Regions from separate parts of the Homo sapiens genome. Here all the other regions are linked to region 1. The links are contacts of gene promoters, found by promoter capture Hi-C in human tissues and cell types (Jung and others, 2019). All regions are on one chromosome and are shown on one strand. The core of a region is centred on a gene start or on the middle of the fragment in contact, and the rest is flanking DNA. Distances in the headings are between cores, read along the strand shown.

Evidence for each region. Contacts are between HindIII fragments. The study calls those that stand out against the background at their distance.
Region 2: a contact is called between a fragment that was not itself captured here and the fragment with the promoter of TGFB2 in region 1, in 1 of the 25 tissues and cell types used here (lymphoblastoid cells).
Region 3: a contact is called between a fragment that was not itself captured here and the fragment with the promoter of TGFB2 in region 1, in 1 of the 25 tissues and cell types used here (aorta).
Region 4: a fragment that was not itself captured here is called in contact with the fragment with the promoter of TGFB2 in region 1 in 2 of the 25 tissues and cell types used here (heart right ventricle and neural progenitor cells).
Region 5: a contact is called between a fragment that was not itself captured here and the fragment with the promoter of TGFB2 in region 1, in 2 of the 25 tissues and cell types used here (adrenal gland and mesendoderm cells).
Region 6: a contact is called between a fragment that was not itself captured here and the fragment with the promoter of TGFB2 in region 1, in 2 of the 25 tissues and cell types used here (mesendoderm cells and thymus).
Region 7: a fragment that was not itself captured here is called in contact with the fragment with the promoter of TGFB2 in region 1 in 1 of the 25 tissues and cell types used here (mesenchymal stem cells).

Annotation. Positions count from the first base shown.
Region 1 is chr1:218,343,914-218,346,613 of GRCh38, reverse strand. TGFB2 (transforming growth factor beta 2) reads right to left here and starts at 1,278. Exons shown (of 7, transcript NM_003238.6): 1 at 1-1,278. It overlaps TGFB2-AS1 (TGFB2 antisense RNA 1), which reads left to right and starts at 936. Exons shown (of 3, transcript NR_046268.1): 1 at 936-1,011; 2 at 1,226-1,439; 3 at 2,152-2,418. RefSeq lists an enhancer at 861-910 and a silencer at 1,291-1,350. The HindIII fragment of the contact is 13,667 bases long and covers 1-2,700 here.
Region 2 is chr1:219,288,316-219,291,015 of GRCh38, reverse strand. It overlaps a transcript of LYPLAL1 not described here. Among named protein-coding and RNA genes, the nearest start is that of LYPLAL1, 120 kb to the right of the region's middle. The HindIII fragment of the contact is 5,673 bases long and covers 1-2,700 here.
Region 3 is chr1:219,261,510-219,264,209 of GRCh38, reverse strand. It overlaps a transcript of LYPLAL1 not described here. Among named protein-coding and RNA genes, the nearest start is that of LYPLAL1, 89 kb to the right of the region's middle. The HindIII fragment of the contact is 4,009 bases long and covers 1-2,700 here.
Region 4 is chr1:218,976,415-218,979,114 of GRCh38, reverse strand. No RefSeq gene overlaps it. Among named protein-coding and RNA genes, the nearest start is that of LINC01710, 59 kb to the right of the region's middle. The HindIII fragment of the contact is 4,084 bases long and covers 1-2,700 here.
Region 5 is chr1:218,959,911-218,962,610 of GRCh38, reverse strand. No RefSeq gene overlaps it. Among named protein-coding and RNA genes, the nearest start is that of LINC01710, 43 kb to the right of the region's middle. The HindIII fragment of the contact is 4,652 bases long and covers 1-2,700 here.
Region 6 is chr1:219,016,226-219,018,925 of GRCh38, reverse strand. No RefSeq gene overlaps it. Among named protein-coding and RNA genes, the nearest start is that of LINC01710, 99 kb to the right of the region's middle. The HindIII fragment of the contact is 3,766 bases long and covers 1-2,700 here.
Region 7 is chr1:218,999,119-219,001,818 of GRCh38, reverse strand. No RefSeq gene overlaps it. Among named protein-coding and RNA genes, the nearest start is that of LINC01710, 82 kb to the right of the region's middle. The HindIII fragment of the contact is 4,618 bases long and covers 1-2,700 here.

The DNA of each region.
Region 1 (2,700 bases), core at 29-2,528:
TTGTTTGGTTTTTTGTTGTTGTTGTTTTTGATGCGAAACTTTTGCAAACAATCTAGTCAATGCCCAACAGAAAAACGTATCCTGCTTGAATTCCTTTAAAAAGAAAAGGCCAGTAGTTCCAAAAGTGGAAATATTAATACGGGACGGGCAGAGGGAACCCTGACTTTGGCGAGTAAGAAGAAAAAAATTCTTGGAGCAATGAGATGGGGAAAAAAAGAGACGAGTGGCTATTAAGTAGAAATAAATTTAAGAGGAGGAAGTGGAGTTCAGTGTGTCAGTCTCGGGTGCGGAGTGGCGGATCTGAACTCGGCTCCTCCGGCCAAAAGGGAAGAGATGAAAAGGTCCCGGGGCTGGCAGCTGGCGAACTGACGGGAGGGGCGCCGGGAGCGCGGTGAGGGGGGCCGCCGAGGCTGACCTGGGCTGAAATTTATATATTTAAAGAAGGAGCGGTTCGGTCCTGCCTTCCACTGCGGCGCTGAGAGCAGGAGCAGCAGCAGCTCCGGAGCAGAGAAGCGCACACGTGTGTGCGTGCGTGTGTGTGTGTGTGTGTGTGTGTGCGTGTGCGCGCGCTGGGGGCGAGCCCAGCGCACCGCGGGGAGGAGGGTGCGCTTCGCAGGGCGCTCGGTACTCGGTCGGGTGCCGCAGGGGCCGCAGAGGCTGCTGAGGCGGCGCGGATCCTGCTCTGGGAGCTGCGCTCCGTGGCCTACACCCTGGCGGGCGCGCGCTGACCCGCTTGGTTACTCCACGTTGCTGCCGCCGCCGCTTGCAAACGCTTCCAGCCTCCAGCTCCCTCCTTCTCCTGCTCCTCCTTCTCTTGCTCCAAACGCCAACCCAGCCACAGACGATCAGCCGTCGCGGTTGCGTTCACCCCCTGCGGATCACAACGGCAGCCCTTGCGACACCCTGGCTGGGGAGTTTTATTCCTGAGGGGGTTGCGCAGGGGCTCCCTTGGACTCCCACCCTTTCCCAACCTCTGCTGGCTTCTCCCCAACGTGGAATTGCTCGCTTAGGGTAGGTAGGCACTTGCCACCCTAAAATAGATCCTCTCTGTCTCCTCCTGTCTGCAGCCGGGCAGCCCCTCAGTTTGTTCCTGGATGACTCCCTAGACCGTCAGGCTAATATTCTCCATCCCCCTCCCCTGCCTCTTTCACTTGCGCTCTCGCTCTGCTGTCTCTTTCTCTCTTTCTCTTTCTATCTCTATCTCAATCTGTCTTTCTCTTGTCAGGAGCTTCTGGAGCTCCGCTCGGAGCGAACCTTCTGCTGCCAGCAGATAACATCACGATCTTGCCGGGGAGGGGAGATTTATAAGTTCTCTCTGAACCACGTGTCTGCCTTCAACAAAGTGACGTGCTAGGATTACAGTCAGAAGTCCTCTCGTTACTTAGACCACGAGCTCTCCCCGAACCGTTGAGGGAGTGTGGAAATGAGGACCGCTGTGGGTAAGGGAGGAAGGAGGTGGAATGTGCGCCCTGACAACAGTGATTTACGGTATTTACTTTCCAGTCATTTTGGACAGGTCTGTTGAAGGAAGGACAATCAAGTCTCCCGTTTTTACTTAGTGTAGCTCAGTCACAGCCTCCCAAGCTGAATCACTTGCTCTAGAAGGGAAGGCTTCCCTCCTGTATTATGTGTGCACACGCACCCCTATGGGAGGGAGCACTAGTCTACTCAGGGCCAGGCCAGTACTGAAGACATACCTTCCAATCTTTTAAATTCATGTCCTACCTCTTATTTTCTGGGATACCTTAGCAGGTTGCCATCCCAGAATTTATTTTGTTAGTTTGTTGTTTACAATGTACCCCTCTGTTTGTGAACTGCTGGAAAACAGAGATCCATCAATTTTACCTAAAGAATAAGGTATACTTGTTTGTTTTACTGATTTGAATGAATGGTCACCTTTATAATTTGCTGCCTAAGCCACTTCTTGTATGGCTTTCTTCTTCACCTTCTTGCTAGGCTAAACATTATCAACCAACTTCATTCTTTCCATAGCATTAATCCAGGAAGCTGGAATTTTAAGTGTTTGATGTCTACTGTTCTACACTACTCATAACTTGACATTTTCAATTTCAACTAAGTCTAAATTAGATGAATACAAGAATAACTCTTACCACTGTTCCACCTTCCCTTTTTCTTTTATTTTACCTTTAGTTACTCAAAGTCAACATTTTCATTTCGGCATGACTCTGCAGCCATACTGACCAGACAGATGATTTAAACTGGAAACTCTGTTGAATGTACTCCCAAACCCAAGATCTCTATACTGTTCTCTACTTCAGATGTTCCTGAGTTCAGAAAAGTCACAAAGAACTTTCTATCACTTTTGGAATTTATACTTCAGTTGTGTATGGGGCCTAGGTTATTAGTAGAGCACTGAATAAATAAAATAATAATAGCTAACATATACTACACTTAGTAATTTGATGTGTGTTGTGTATGGTCATTTAATCTTCACTATGAACCTATAAAGTGGGTCTTATTATCCATATCTGGCAGATGAGGAGACTGAGGTACAAAGAAGTTAAGTACTTTGTTCGAGACCACAGTAAGTGGTAGAGCTGGATTTTTGCAGTCAGGATCCACTATGTTCTTACCTACTATGTACTTCTGAGAAACAATGGTCCCAGAATATGTTCTGACAAACAGGAATTCTGGAGTCAAACAAGTTTGGGAGATACTGGGTACTCTCCTGTCCTCTTA
Region 2 (2,700 bases), core at 97-2,596, 940 kb before region 1:
GACAGAATGATACTAAGTAACTTGATTGAGATTTTACAGCCAGTAATAGTAGATATAGGATTTGATCTCAGGTTTTCCATGACCATAAACTGTGCTTACCTCCTACACCAGGCTGGTCTGTGAATAGAGTATATTCAACAAAACTTTGTGAATACCTGCCATGTGTAATGTGCATGTACAGAATATAAAGATAGTGCATTTGGGTATGGTCACAAGTTATGTTAGGGGTCCCAATCCAGACTGCAAGAGAGGGTTCTTGGATGTCGCTCAAGAAAGAATTTGGGGCGAGTCCACAGTGCAAAATGAAAGCGAGTTTATTAAGAAAGTAAAGTGGTGAAAGAATAGCTATTCCGCAGACAGAGAAGGGCATTCCCGAAAGTAAGAGGAGGAATGCTCCCACTCTAGGTACAATACTTGTTTATATATAGGATAACAACAACAACAACATATCATAGGGAGATGTGCTCTGCTATAAGGGTTTGTGATAAAGGGTTACTTTTCTTAATCACTGTATTTTGTAAAAATCAATATTATTATTTTTAAAGCAAAATTAGAAATGCTTCTCAAGATGTTGGAAGTCTGGGTCTGTTTAGTAAATGTTATCAATCTGTTCTTTTAAACCTAAACATGTAGAGGGGCTAGGAATAACTAACGTCCTGGGAATGCAGCCCAGAAAGTCTCAGCCTCATTTTTCCTAGCCCTCACTCAAGATGGAGTTCCTCTGGTTCGAATGCCTCTAACAGTGAGATGGAAGACATGGAAGCACACTAGCAGGAGAAACCAACTATGCCTAAGAATGACACAGCACAATAGAGCCACAATCATGTCCATTTATTTACTTATTTATTTGCAGCATGAAACCAAGACATCACACCTGAGCATTCTGATGGGTCTTAGCAAGAGCACCTAGGTGACCTGTTGTTTCTCCAAGGCTGACATTTCTCAGTCTCCTGGCATTAGAAAGGCAGAGCCAAACCTCCAGGATTTTGCTGCTTACCTGCAGCTCTCACTGAGCCCCAGGTTATCTGGATTTAGAGGATTGTGGATCAGTAGGATTGGCCATTAGACACTAATTCTCATTCAATTAAGGAAGGGATAACTAATGTGTTTCTCTGATGAAAAAGGTAGGGTGGCCAAGGGGCATTAATATCAGAGAGATCTGCTTGGATTTAAACCCAAATTTGGTCACTTAATTATGTCATCTTTGAAATATTTATTTAACTTTTCTGAACTGTGGTTTCTTAATTTATAAAATGAGGATGGCGCGAGCAATTGTGGGCATTAACTAAAACAATACGCTTGAAAGTGTTTGACAATACCAGCAGCTCATGAAAAAGAAAAACATCTAAAACAGAATGTGGGTGAAAAGACTGAGAGTAATTTTCTACTTGAAGCAGAGTCTTCACTGAAAACCATACTTCTTTCTGCATGCCCACACTCTACAGCCTATTGGCTTGTATTATAGATTTTTATGTGTGTGGTATATTATTTTCTCACAATAGCTCTCTTGCCGTGTTCTGTCTGCTATTAATCTGTAAGATCATTAGGCACAAGGATTGTGAATTCGATTTCTTTCATATTCTCTTCCCATAGTACCTAATAAAAACTCCCCACAGAGCCTCCATTCTGTGAGAAGAATATAAATATACAGCACTTCACAATTTACAAAATCATTTCACATGCATCCCCTCATTTGATCTCACTACAGCTCTCACGGGCTTCCTTGGTTCTCAGATCACGATGATTGGGAGGTGGACAGACTAAGTAATGATCAGGTTTCGGCATTAAGCATAGCATGTACTCTGATACTTATCAAATTTTTCTCTGCCGCCTCCTTTTTCTCTCTAACCTTGGGCCCTTAGAAATGTATCTCAGTTACACATCCTCGGGTCCTGTGCCTCCAAAGAAATTTCCAAAGGCAAAAAAAACAAAAAAAACAAAACAAGAGGTAACTTGTGCCAGCACATTTCTGCATGGCCTCCCTAGAAGGAAAGGAGCCTATGTTTATCATCCAGATGTATTAAGACGGTAACATTTCCTGACCAAATTCGAGCAAGACGATTTAAATGAGAGCGTGCCTAATGACATTTTATGACAAATGCAATATTTTAGAGGCATGAATTAATTTTAAAGCGTACTTCTACCACAATTCTCACAAGTTAAAGTACAATTTTAAAACATGTAAGACAAGTTTTTTAAGAGCAGTTTTAAGTTTATGGCAACATTGAGAAGAAGATACAGAGATTTCTTATATACTCTTGTCTCCACATATGGTCAGCCTTCCCCATTGTCAACATCTCCCACCAGAGTGGTGCATTTGTTACAGTCGATGAAACGACATTGGCACATCAATATCACCCAAAGTCCATAGTTTCCCTTAAGGTTCATGCTTAGTGTTGTATATCCTATGGGTTTAGGTAAATGTATAATAATATGTATTCATCAATATAGCATTATACAGAGTGTTTTCACTGCCCTGAAAATCTTCTGTGCTTCCGTGAAAATTTTCACTGCCCTGAAAATTTTCTGTAGATAAATTATCCCACGCCTCAAACCCTGGCAGTCACTGATCTTTTTCTTTTAACTGATTCCATAGTTTTACCTTTTCCAGAATGTCATATATTTGGAGTACATCATATGGCCTTTTCAGATTGGCTTCTTTCACTTAGTAAAATATGCACTTAAGTTTCCTTTGTGCTT
Region 3 (2,700 bases), core at 48-2,547, 920 kb before region 1:
TGTTAGAACAGAGTGGACTCTTTGGTTAGTACTGTGTGATACAGACCTGAATATAGGATTACTCTAGAAAGACTTTGACACTGGAGATAGGTATAGCAGTGATTTTTTAAAAAATAAAAATTGGATTAGTTTATCAGGATTAAGGAGAGAAAATGGCAGATGGGAGACAGGACTAATGGGCAGCTCCCAGTTGGACAGACAGGACAGCATGTGAAGACTCACACTATGAACTTTTGCTCTGAGACCTGCCACAGGAACATGCCAGGAAGACTGAAAGAGTTCACAGATCCTGCGGAAGAAGTGGCTGGCCACTGCAAACTCCATGAGATAGCCAAAAAACTGTGAGTTCCCAAAGTATGAAAGGGGAAAATATGCCTCTGAACACACATCCCACTGCGGAATCTGAAAATCCAGGTCATGAGAAAAAGATTTAACCTTACGTAGAACTGAAACAAATTTAGGGAGCTGAGCAAAATATTAAAGCAGAAGAAGCAGCAGGAAGAGCCCTGTAGGCACTCCCAGGTCCCAGCTCAAGCCCAGGGAAGCCATCCCTGACTCTATCTCACAGGGGTCCTTGGAGAAGGTAGCCATCAGAAGTAGGGAGGGATCACAGGGTGAAAGAAGCTTCCCACTGAACTTCGTAATAATTTAGTTCAAGCATGAATTTTCTTGAGCAGAATCTAGGGGACAAACAGGAATTGCTAGAGATACCAGCACAGGAGCAGTGGCCATCAGTATCGGAAGGTGGAGAGGCATGAGACCTAAAAGCCATGCTTGCTTTCTCAGTGGCAGGCTTGTAACCTGGGGCAAGATCTGAGCCCTGCATGCAGGCTGCCTGGATATAAACTTGGCACTATTGGTGGGGCACAGCAGAAGTGAGACTGGCCTCACCAGCTGTGTGGGAGCTGGGTAACACCTATAACTGCTAGGTTTCCCCCACTTCCCTGGTGACATATACAATGAAGCAGAAGCAGCCATAATCCCCCTTGAAACATAACTCCATTGGCCTGATAACCACCTCCCCATACCCCACAGTGGACGTAGCAAGCCTGACCCAAGGAGAGTCTGACCTGCATGGTTTTCCTCTACCTGCCTGGTAGCCAAACACAAAACACATAAATTCTTGGGAGCTTTATGGCCCTGCCCATTACCTGAGAAACTTATCCTGTCCAACTTAGGGCAAGCTTATATCCCCCTTCTACTGCCACAGCTGGTGCTCTCTTGAAAGTGCCACCTCCTGGCTAGAGGCCAACCAACTCAAACCATTACAGCAATTCATGACAGAATAATCCTGCTCCAAGGAAAGACAAAACAACAGCTAATTCCTCTGCCTGCAACGTCCTGGCTAACCAGAGGTCCTGACTCTGTCCATGTGACAACTTCACTGCTAGAATAACTAGCATTTGAGAAAACCAAAACGCTAAACATAACTACAACCAAGGACTCTCACAGAGTCTACTTCCCTCCCCTGCCACCTCCACCAAAGCAGGTGCTGGTATCCACAGCTGGGAGACCTGAAGATGAATCACATCACAGGACTCTTTGCAGACATTTCCTAGTACCAGCTCAGAGCCTGGTAGCCCCACTGGGTGGCTAGACCCAGAAAAGCAATAATAATCGCAGCAGTTTGGATCTCAGGAAGCCCCATCCCTAGGGAAAGTGGGAGAGCACTACATCAAGGGATCACCCTATTGTACAAAAGAATCAGAACAGCAGCCCTTGAGTTCCAGACTTTTCCTCTGAAATAGTGTACCCAAATCAGAAGGAACCAGAAAAGTAATTCTGGTAATATGATGAAACAAGGTTTTATAACACCCCCAAAAGATTAATGGATCCAAACCAAGAAGAAATCTCTGAATTCTCAGATAAAGAATTCAGAAGGTTGATTATTAAACTACTCAAAGAGATAGCAGAGAAAGATGAAAACCAAATTAAATAAATGTAAAAAATAATACAGGATATAGATGAATTATTTCCAGAAAAATAGATATCATAAAGAAAAAACAATCACAACTTCTGGAAATGAAAGACACATTTAGAGAAATACAAATTACACCAGAAAGTTTGAACAATAGACTAGAACAAGTAGAAGAAAGAACTTCAAAGCTCAAAAACAAGGCTTTTGAATTAACCCAATCAGACAGAGTCAAATAAGAAAGAACAAAAAAATATAAACAAAGTCTCTGAGAAATTTGGGATTATGTTAAACGACTAAACCTAAGAATAATTAGTGTTCTTGAGAAAGAAGAGAAATCTAAAAGTTTGGAAAACTTATTCAAGGGAATAATCAAGCAAACATTCCCCGGCCTTGCCAAAGATCCAGACCTCCAAATACAAGGCGCTCAAAGAACACCTGGGAAATTCATTGCAAAAAGATCATCACCTAGGCACATAATCATCAGGTTACATAAGGCCAAGATGAAGTGAGGCAAAGGTATCAGTTAACCTGTAACGAAAAACCTATCAGATTAACAGCAGATTTCTCAGCAGAAGCCCTATAAGCCAGAAGGGATTGAGGATCTATCTTCAGTCTCCTCAAACAAAATAACTATCAGCCAAGATTTTTGTATCCAGCTAAACTAAGTTTCATAAACGAAGGAGAGATAAAGTATTTTTCAGACAAACAAATGCTGAGAGAATTTGCCACTACCAAGCCAGCACTACAAGAAAGGTTAAAAGGAGTGCTACCACCACCTCTGC
Region 4 (2,700 bases), core at 60-2,559, 630 kb before region 1:
CTGACCAACATGGAGAAACCTCATCTCTACTAAAAATACAAAATTAGCCGGACGTGGTGGCGCATGTCTGTAATCTCAGCTACTCGAGAGGCTAAGGCAGGAGAATCGCTTGAACCCGGGAGGCAGAGGTTGTGGTGAGCCAAGATCGTGCCATTGCACTCCAGCCTGGGCAACAAGAGTGAAACTCTGTCTGAAAAAAAAAAAGAAATACTGATTTATATTGTACATCACATGTAGAGGAGAGAATTGTGAATTTACTTTGATGACTTTGTTAGCGTCCAACATATATACAAAAAACGTAGCTCAAGCTAGATGACGTGCAAATTTAACTACAAGGTTGTTCATTGCAGTGCATTTTATGACAATAATGATTAAAAACATTTAAAAAATAGAAAATTTAAATGTTTATTATTACAGAATTAAATAAATGATAAACATTACACAGTTGAATACATTTTACACTTCAAAATGATACTATAGATACATTTTTGTTGACTTGGAAAAATGTTCAGTATATATTGCTAAGTGAAAAGACAAAATGTATAGGCAATATAATCCTATTTGGTGAAAATATGTATGTTTGTGTGTGTGATGTGTAGTGAAAATTTATGCATGAGAAAAGGCATAGATATACCATGGGATTTAGAGTCATCCTCTCTGGGCTGTGGGATTATGGGACGTATCTTCTTTTTTGATGCACCTGTGTTTTCGAACTTTTCCACATTGATCAGAAATTGATTTTGCCATTAAAAAGAATTAAATTTTAAAATGTAGTTTAAACGTTCCAAAGAAATATTCAAAATAACCATATCGGTTTGGAAAGAAGCATCAAGGAGAACTTTCAACAGATTACACATGAAAGATTGAAGAGTGGGTGAGGCAAAAGATGGTTCATAGATTGTGATAATCCTTTGAGAAATATGAAATAACATCAGAAATAGTCATTGGAAATAACAGGATGGGGCATCACAAAACCACCCCTGGGAATAACTCACTTAAACACTGAAATGTGGATAGTTTCTCACAGTTCTAGGATGTAATTGTACTCTTTTATCTTTCCTAAATGAAAATAACAGATACCACTGGAGTCAGGTTGTACTTTTCTACCAAGAAACTAAAATTAAAGAGTAAAACTTTAATCATGATTTCCTGATGATTCATGGTTATAAAAAGAAAAATTATAATCATTTATGTACCTCATCATTTTGAGAAATTAAATGACATGCATAACTCCAAAAAACTAAAACTTGAAAGGATTATACATTTCCTCCCCAATTATTTCTGTAGAAAATTTAGAAAGTATAGAACATTTCAAAATATAAGCCAAAATATTTGCATTTTCCCCACCCAGGGAAATGACTATTAACATTTTAATGCATGCATTTGGTCTTTCTCATCATTATATATATTTTAAAACTATTTGGATGTAGTAAACATACCATTTTATAAACTATTTATGTAAAATATGCTCAGGGCACTTTTCTTCATGAAAAAATCTTAGCAAACAAAAATATTAACTACTTCTAGTAATCTTTTATTAAATAGTTTTCAGGTTGTTGTAGAGTATTCTAATTTTTATTTTTCTATTACAAACAATACTGAGAGAAACATAACCCTTTGAGCTTCTCTTTAATTATTACTTTTTAGAATATAGTCCAGAATTAGGGTAAATGGGTTAAGATGTAGACAGTTTAAAACTACTTTAAATGGCAGGAAGGTCATTTTTAAAGAGAAGAATTGGCTTGAGATCATGGAAGTAAAAACATCCAACACATCAGGTTAATCTTCATATTACATTATAAATATTTACAGTTTCCTCTTCTTAACAAGAAGTGGGAGTAGTTTTATCCTTGTTTGTTTCTTTATTTTCAATGCTGAGAAAGAGAAAATGTGTTCCTCCATTCCCTAATCCTGATTCTGGCCCCACCTGTGGGATGGTTTTAATGAGAAGCCCTACTATGGAAACATACCTTGTATGCCACATGCATTCCAAAAGACTGGATTCTGGCCTTTCTAGCCCGTGTCTACACCACAGGGTTCAGATGAAGAGTTGGGTAATGAATGTGGGTTCTACCTGACAGCTACACCCAAAATCCACCCTGACTATTTTATTTCTATCTGTGTTTGTGGTGCTTTCCCCACAGACCTTGAGTTCCATGGGGGCTGGGTCTGTCTTTCTCATTTACTGTTGTATCCTCTACACAGAAATACTGACGAACCAGCAGAGTAGAAGAGTGTCTGCTTTCCCATAATCTTCCATCACAGGGAATTCATTTCAGTTTTTAACCTTCACCAATTTGATGGCCAAGAATGGAACTTACTGTGTGATACTGGTACAGTTGAATTTAAACTCTTATGTTTATTTTCCTTTTGTAATTTGCCTCTTTGTATTCTTTGCCTATTTTTCAATTAAAGAATTCTTCTTTTTCCTGTTGATGTAAAAGAACTTTTTTTATGTATCAGATAGTAACTCTCTGTCTACCATGTACGTTGCAAATATTGCATCCTGGTTTCTTATTTATAGTGTTTTTAATATACTAATAATTTTAATTTTTTTCTCAAATATATGAATGTTTTCCTCAATGGTTTTTGCTTTTTACTTAGAAAGCCTTTCTCTAATGCTTGTCAAATTTTTTGTGGCTTTATTTTTAAAAATTTCAAGCTTGCTAATCTGCAAATGTCATTATGATGAGCATTCAG
Region 5 (2,700 bases), core at 35-2,534, 620 kb before region 1:
AATACATATGGTAAATTACTATAATTGCCCTGTTGAACCATGGTAGAGCGAATGCTCAATACTAGTGGGCCACGTAATTTTGGTAGTCAGTGTTTTTTTTATCTCTAATAGCCAATATTTTCTCTAGACTTGCCATATCAGAAGTTGGCATCAACTAGATGTGACCTCCCTTTTCTTATGTGTTTACCTATGTTTACAAAATCTGCACTATGAACATCAGTGGTTTGTCTATGTCAAATTTAATTCATCGCATAAATTCAGACTTTGCCAGTTCAAAAATTGTGATGCACCAGATACTTGCTATCATAATTACTCTGGAGATTAAATTAGATCAATCTTGGTCCTCATACACTAAAGTTTAGTTATTAAGGGACAAAACTGGTCTTAACAGATATGTTTTTAGCAGCATGGAACTCTCATAATCTGGAGCCCAGAGATGGCTTTGTTATGTGAATGCCAGTATAAATTAGACATAGGATATATTGATGCAAGCAAGAATTAATATTTTAAACAAACAAAAATCAGCAAGTGTGATGACAATTCTTAAATATAAGCTATTCTGAAGATACAAACTCTTCTGGAAAAAGTAAAACAAGATTAAGATTGCTTTTATGGCATTTGATATGCAGCTGTACAAAGATCTCCCTGATCATATCTGGATGAGATACTCCTTCTAAGAGCTATTATGGCACCACATGTATACCTTAGACTAATACCACATGACACTGAAATTCCCTGCTTCAATGTCTGTGTTTCCAGCTAGAGTACAAACAATGAGGGACCAGTGATACCTGGTTCTGGCTGTGTGCATAGTAGACACTCAATAATTTTTTCATTTTGAATTGATTCCCAGGCACAAGTTCCAGCCAAATGTTTAATTATCATTCCATCAACGTATATGGCAATTTCCTTAATCATGATAAAGAAAGGGATAAATTGGACTCCAAGGTTATTTTGATAAGGGGTGGTACTACATCAAAAAGTCCTGCTAGGGCATAACATTAAAAGGAGTTTTAGTATGATGAAGTCTATGTTTTTTTTTTTTTAAACAGATATTGCTTAATCTTCATGCTTGTCAATTTGTAACTCAAATGGCCTCAGGAGTTCATGCTAAAATTGAGACATCAAGGAATAAATCTGAGATGTTTGCCACATTTGAGGCAAAGTGAATGTACCAAGCATTGACAGGGAGGAAATGCCGTCTCTGGTCACCTGGTAGACTACTGACCTCTCAAGATATGTCCAAGGATAAAAATCAAAAGAGTTTCCAACAGGGCTCTGTTTAGTGGTCACATTCTTGAATACTTCATCTTGTCACAATTTTTATCCACATTATATCTAGAAAGTGATCTCAGAAGTTTTCTTTTTTTTTGTTTGTTTTTCTTTCTGCAAAATGGCAGACTATTTTTGCTCAACTTGGAGTGGCACAACTTAGTTTTCTTCCTTAAACTTTTTGATAGGCTTTTAAAAAAGTTTCCTTTGTAATGGCCTTATCTTCCTTCAAGTAAAGTCGATGGATAAAGGAAGAATAATTTCTACATTTATTTATGAAGAAAGAACTGATTGAATACATACTAGTTATGAGAGAGCAGAAAGAATTTCCATAGTAAAAAAGAATCAAATCAATAAAGCAGGAATCTTTTATAAGAGGCTCACAATATAATCAAGATGATATACAGGCAAACATTATATTGCAATATTATTTGTAATAACAAATAATTGTGGTTATTCTAAGTAGCTATATTGCAATTCATTTAGTCAATAAATATTTATTCAGCATCTACTTTGCTAGACATGAGGCTAGGCACCAGGAATGTAATAGTGAACAAGACTCAGCTTACTACCCTCATGGAGCTTGCATTCAAGTGGGGAAACAGACAATAAATGAATGAATACATTAAATAATAAAATATCTACAATAATAAAGAAGGTGATTTGCTCTAAAAAGGAAAGAAGAGGGAGCTGTGATAGAAAATGGCCATGTTTACCATCACAGAGAGTTTACCATTACAGACGTGTGATCATGAAGACCCCTCTAACTGCGTAACACTCAAACTAATACCTGAAGAAGAGATGTCAGTCATGCAAAAGTGTTAGGGAGAGGATGCCACTGGAGGAAATAATTGCTAATGCTGAGGGTTACAGGTGTAATTCCATTCAAATGTCACATCCTAGGGACATAGATGGAGCTGGAGGCCATTATCCTAGCAAACTAACGCAGAAACAGAAAAGCAAATACCACATGTTCTCACTTCTAAGTGGGAACTAAATGATGAGAACACATGGACCCATAGAGGGGAACAACACACATAGCAGCCTATCGGAAAGTGGAGGGGGAGGAGGGAGAGGATCATGGAAAAAAAACTAATTGACACTATGCTTAATACCTGGGTGATAAGATAATCTGTACAACAACCCCCCATGACACAAGTTTACCTATGTCACAAACCTGAACTTGTACCCCTGAACTTAAAATATAAGTTAAAAAAAAAAAAAACTCGCCTGAAACCCTCCAGGCAAAGCAGCAGAATGAGTGCTCCTTTCCTGGTACTTGATTACATCATAAATCATGCTGCTTTGAGCCATTCCACATTATGTTGAATTATTTGTGTAGCAGCCTGATTTATCACTAGGCTGAGTTTTCATTCACCATTGTTTTACTGTACCTATGGCAATACTGTACCTATGGCAATATGTGTC
Region 6 (2,700 bases), core at 15-2,514, 670 kb before region 1:
GTAAAAAAAAAACCCTAATCCAAGTCCACTTTTAAATAACAGTATACCATTCACAGTTAGTGTGAGTGCTTTATGTTAACCAGATACATTTAATGCCCCCATTCTTTGTATGATTCTTATTATTCATTTCATTTGTATGCAAACATGCATATATATGTATATGACATATACGTAAGCATACCTAATTGAATACATTGTTGCTATGACTCTTTTAAATAAGTTGTTATCTGTTAGAACAATTAAGAATAAAAAAAGCTTTTATTTTACCTTAACTTATTTCTTCTTTAATGCTTTCTTCATGTAGACCAAGTTTCTGACCTATAAGATTTTCCTTCTCGCTAAAGAATTTTGTTTTTAACATTTCTTGCAAAGCATGTCTACTGTCAAAAAATATTTTCATTTGGGTTTGTCTAAGAAAGACTTTATTTCTCTTTCACTTTTGAAGAATAATTTTACATGATATAGAACTATAGTTTGGCAGTTTTGCTCTCAACACTGTAAATAGTTCCCTCTACTCTCTTCTTGCTCACATGGTTTCTGAGGAAAGTCATGCAATTCTTATCTTTGTTTCTCTGTAGGTAAGGTGCTTTTTTTTCCCCTCTGATCTCCTTCAAAAATTTTTCTCACTTGTTTGGTTTTATATAGTTTAAAAATGATATGCCTAGGTGAGGGTGTGGGTGTGTTTGGCATTTATCCTCCTTGTTGTCCTGTGAGCATCCTGGGCTTGTGGTTTGGTGTCTGACATTACTTTGGAGGTTATTTTCAGTCATTATTGTTTCAAACATTTCTTCTGTTTCTTTCTCTGTTTCTTCTCTTCTGGTATTCTCATTATGCGTAAGTTACACATTCTGTAGTTGTCCCACTACAAAAGTCCTTAGATGTTCTGTTATTTTTTTTCCCTCAGCCTTTTTTCCTTTGCATTTCAGTTTGTATGTTTCTATTGACATATTCTCAGAAATTCTTTCCTCAGCCATGCCCAGTCATCTCAGGAGTCTACAAAAGGCATTCTTCATTTCTGAAACAGTGTTTTTCATCTATAGCAATTTTGGTTTCTTTCTAATTTTTCATCCCTCTGCTTACATTACCCATTTTGTTTCGCATGCCATCTACTTTATCAGTTAGAGCCTTTATCGTATTAGTCATAGTTGTTTTAATTCCCAATCTCATAATTCCAACATTTCTCCTATGTCTGTTTCTGATATTTTCTTTGTCTCTTCAAATTGTATTTTCCCTCTTGGGTATGGTCTTAATTTTTTGGTACAAACTGAGCATAATGTACTAGGTAAAGTGATCTGTGGTAAATTAGGCCTTTAGTAATGTGATGGTAAGCTTTGGGAGTAGGGGAAGCATTTTATAGTCTTACGATTAAGTCTTATTCTTTTGGTGAGCTGGTAAACTGATAATTACCAGTTCTTCTCATTTTCCCACCCCACCCACCTACCCCTTATGTGAGATAGGATAGCTAGTAGGGGCAGAAGTTGGGTAGTTTTATCCCTTTATGTGAAAGGCTGGTGTAAGCTGGACTTGGGTATTTTACATCCCCCAGATGGAAAGAAGGTGATACTGGGCTAAAGTTGAATATTTTCCTTCCTCCAAGTCAGTTATGCACTGATAAAAACATAGTAGGCTAGGCTCAGGTAAAATAATTTGTCTTGTGGTCAGGCCTTGTTAAAAAGAACAGAATACTCTGCCGTATCTCAAAATAGTTACTTTTCCCCTCCCCTTTTTGGAAGCATGATGGAATTTTTCTCTGGTATTTACAATGAAAACCTAGTAGTTTCTGGAGGTAAAGCTCTCAAAAATGTATTGGCCTCCCCATTACTAGGTCTTCCTGGAGATTGTAACCCCTAGAATTGTCCTCATGAAATCTCTATTTCTCAATTACAGTTCATATTTTCCTACTTCAGTCCTCATTCCTGTGAGGTTCCAGCTCTGGTCAGTTGTGATTCTCTGTAACTTCCTGTCTGTCTCACCAGTTTTGGGGGCAATTGTTGACCCTGTGACCTCATTTCTGTGAGGTGTAGATACCTCTTAGAAGAAGAGTTATTGATTTTGCAGTTTGTTCAGATTTTTACTTGTTAGAATGGAGTGACAGCTTCCAAGCTCCTTACATGCCAATCTGGAAACCACTCTCTGTCCTTTTATTTCAATGATTAAAATGATAATTTTCGTAATCTCTTATTGTTTTTTTCCAAGGTTTTGCTCAGTTATGCCTATGCTGTGTAATAAATGTTTACCTTTTTGAATAGAAATTATTCTTTAATTATTGTCTATGAGGATACTAATTAATTTGTCTCAAATTATTTGCTAGACATCTATAAAATCAATTTCATTTGAAGTGAAATATCTTTTAATTATTGATTTTGATACTTTTTAACTTTAAATTTTGTTCAATTCTTCATGTATTTTGGAATTTTTGTTTGCAGGTTTATTTTTTGTGGAAGATATCTTTTGATTTTCTTAATTTCTCTGTGTGTACTTTCTAACAACTTTTTGGTTACCTTCCTAGTTTGCAGTGCTGCAAGTCCAAACTAGGTAATATAAAAACACTCAGGACTATTACTTTATGATATTAAATATATTAAAAATTCAATTACCCTGCCAGTGGGTCACTGTTCAGTTCCTGAGGAGGAGGCTGTGCATTTCTTCTACACATTTAGATATGCCGCTTATTAAAAGCTATAGCCTCAGGCAGTTGTT
Region 7 (2,700 bases), core at 193-2,692, 660 kb before region 1:
GTCAAAACCCGTATCAGCTTAATCTGTGCAAACTTTCAAAGAATCATTTGATAGGTTGGAGGATACCAGAATGAAATGCAGAATGTGACAAAGCAATCCAACTCTATTGTAAATGTATAAGACAAACTTACTGAAGTGGGTAAGCAAAAAGGTGCTGACCTGAGTAATTTTGCAACTGAGTAGTGTGTGAGAATAAGAGCTAAAGAAACTCTACATAAAGCACTGTACTATAGTTGATGAAGTGGTTTCCTAGGGAAATACAAATGATGAGTTCTGATACTTTTATACATATACATTGTAATTGAACAATTAAGTAAATGGATAGAAGAGAGTAGGAGCCAGGCTTCTTGCTGTTGGAGTGCAACCTTAAAAATAAGCAACAGGATGAGGATATAATCATCCCTGTGGTAATGGATTACAGTTGGAGACAGCAGTATGAAATCATGATTAACTAATTACAGATACAGATGGTTACACATAGAAATATATATGGGTTGGGGCTAGGCGCGGTGGCTCATGCCTGTAATCCCAGCACTTTGGGAGGCTGAGGCACGTGGATCACGAGGTCAAGAGATCGAGACCATCCTGGCCAACATGGTGAAACCCCATCTCTACTAAAAATACAAAAATTAGCTGGACATTGTGGCCCGTGCCTGTAGTCCCAGCTACTCGGGAGGCTGAGGCAGGAGAATTGCTTGAACCCAGGAGGTGGAGGTTGCAGTGAGCTGAGATTGCACCACTGCACTCCAGCCTGGTGACAGAGCGGGACTCCACCTCAAAAAAAAGAAGAAATATATATGGGTTGCTATACACACGTTTCTCTTACTTTTTCAGCTAAGAGGACTTAGAAGAAATGACACCCCAGTAGAAATAAGCATACCATCTAGTACCCAGATTTTGTTTTTTAATAGCAATTTCCAGTAAAAAGGGAACAAGGTTTCTTGGTGAAATGACTGTTTACACTGGTGATTCATTTACATTGGTTATTCAAAGGACTGGGGCAGAAAAATGTGCAAGATAAGCCTGGAGCATTTTGTAGTGCCAGAAACAAAAAAGTGCTAAACAAAAGAAAATCCCACAATGATGGAGATATGTCAATGGAGCACAGAAGCCCACTGAAAGAGCTCCAATGGCCAGAGCTGGAACAATTGAAGCAATGAAATAAATGAAAGAGTATTGAATTATCAACAAAAGTATAAGATAACTATCTATGAGTCTATACTAATATAAATACATAATTGAAAAAATAAGGAATTGGGGAGATTAAACAAACCTGCCATGCAGAATAAGACCAAATAATTTATATAAAGTAGTTACTCTGACCTCAAGGAAGTGGAGCTTAACTCCCCACTCCTACAGTGTGGGCTGTACATAGATACTGTCTTCTAAATAGTCTAGTATGGAAAGGGGAAAAATATTAACTTCACAGTGAAAAAGGCAAACTTTACATCAGCCAGGTGGTCAAGATTAACATCAACAGTGACAATTCACATTAATAGTATATACACTTTATATGATGTAATGAAAAGAAATACTTTAGCTTTTTAATTGTTCCTGACAAATCTCATAGCGTCAGTCAAAGCATGAGAAAAACAATTTAAATCTTGATTGAAGGACATTCTTCAAATGCCTTCTCAAAACTGTCAAGGTCATCAAAAACAAGGAAAGTCTGAAGCACTCTAGAAGCCTAAGGAGACATAATAACTAAATGTAATGTGGCATCCTATATGGGATGTTGGAAAAGAAGGAAGAATACTAAAATTAAAGAAATTTAAAAATGAAAGAAAGCTGAATAAAGCATGGACTTTAGTTAGTAAAAATGTATTAATATTGCTTTATTAATTGTAATAAATCTGCCATTCTGACATAAGATGTTAATAATTAGGGGAACGGCATGTGGAGTACATTGAACCCTCTGTCCTATCTTCACAATGCTTCTGTAAGTTCCAATCTATTATAAAATAAAAAGTTTATATAAAAGTGAAAATAAATTATAAGAGGATCTCGGTATCTGGAGTAAACTGATTTTTAAAAATAAAAATTTGAATACATGTATATTATGTTAATCTGTCAGGAGTTATATACACGTATCATTTTGGGAATTTCAGGGGATATGAAATCCAACGATAATATTACTTTTACTGAGCACAATACTAGAACTCTGCAGGCATTATCTTACATATCAAAAAAGGCTGCAATGCAAATGCTCTTATGCTAAACAAACTGAAGTTAATTTTTTTGGTTCTAATTTCAAAGTTAGTGGGAATATACTCACTTCTGGTTTCCTTTATCATGCACCATTTCCAGTTTTGGTTTCTTTTATCCTTGTTTTTCTCCACATAGTAATCACCTTACAGATTATATTATGCATCTGAGAAATATGTAAAGCCTCTATAGTTTCTAAGATCAACAGTAATATAATTCAACTCAATTAGAATTATTGTTCACTACAAATAAAATGTGCTTCCCTTCTTTAAAAAAAATCTAATTTTCTTTCTCTTTCGCTATCCAGTTATATATATTTTATATATATATATAAAACAATACACCTTGTCATCAGTGGTTTGCAATAATGCCTTTCTTGATTGCATAAGTGATCAATGTATTGTTTTTTTCTGTTACAATGGTCTGTGTATTTATGTACTGATACTGCATTATTTTAACTATAAAGCTTTTGTGATATGCTTTAATATCTGGCTA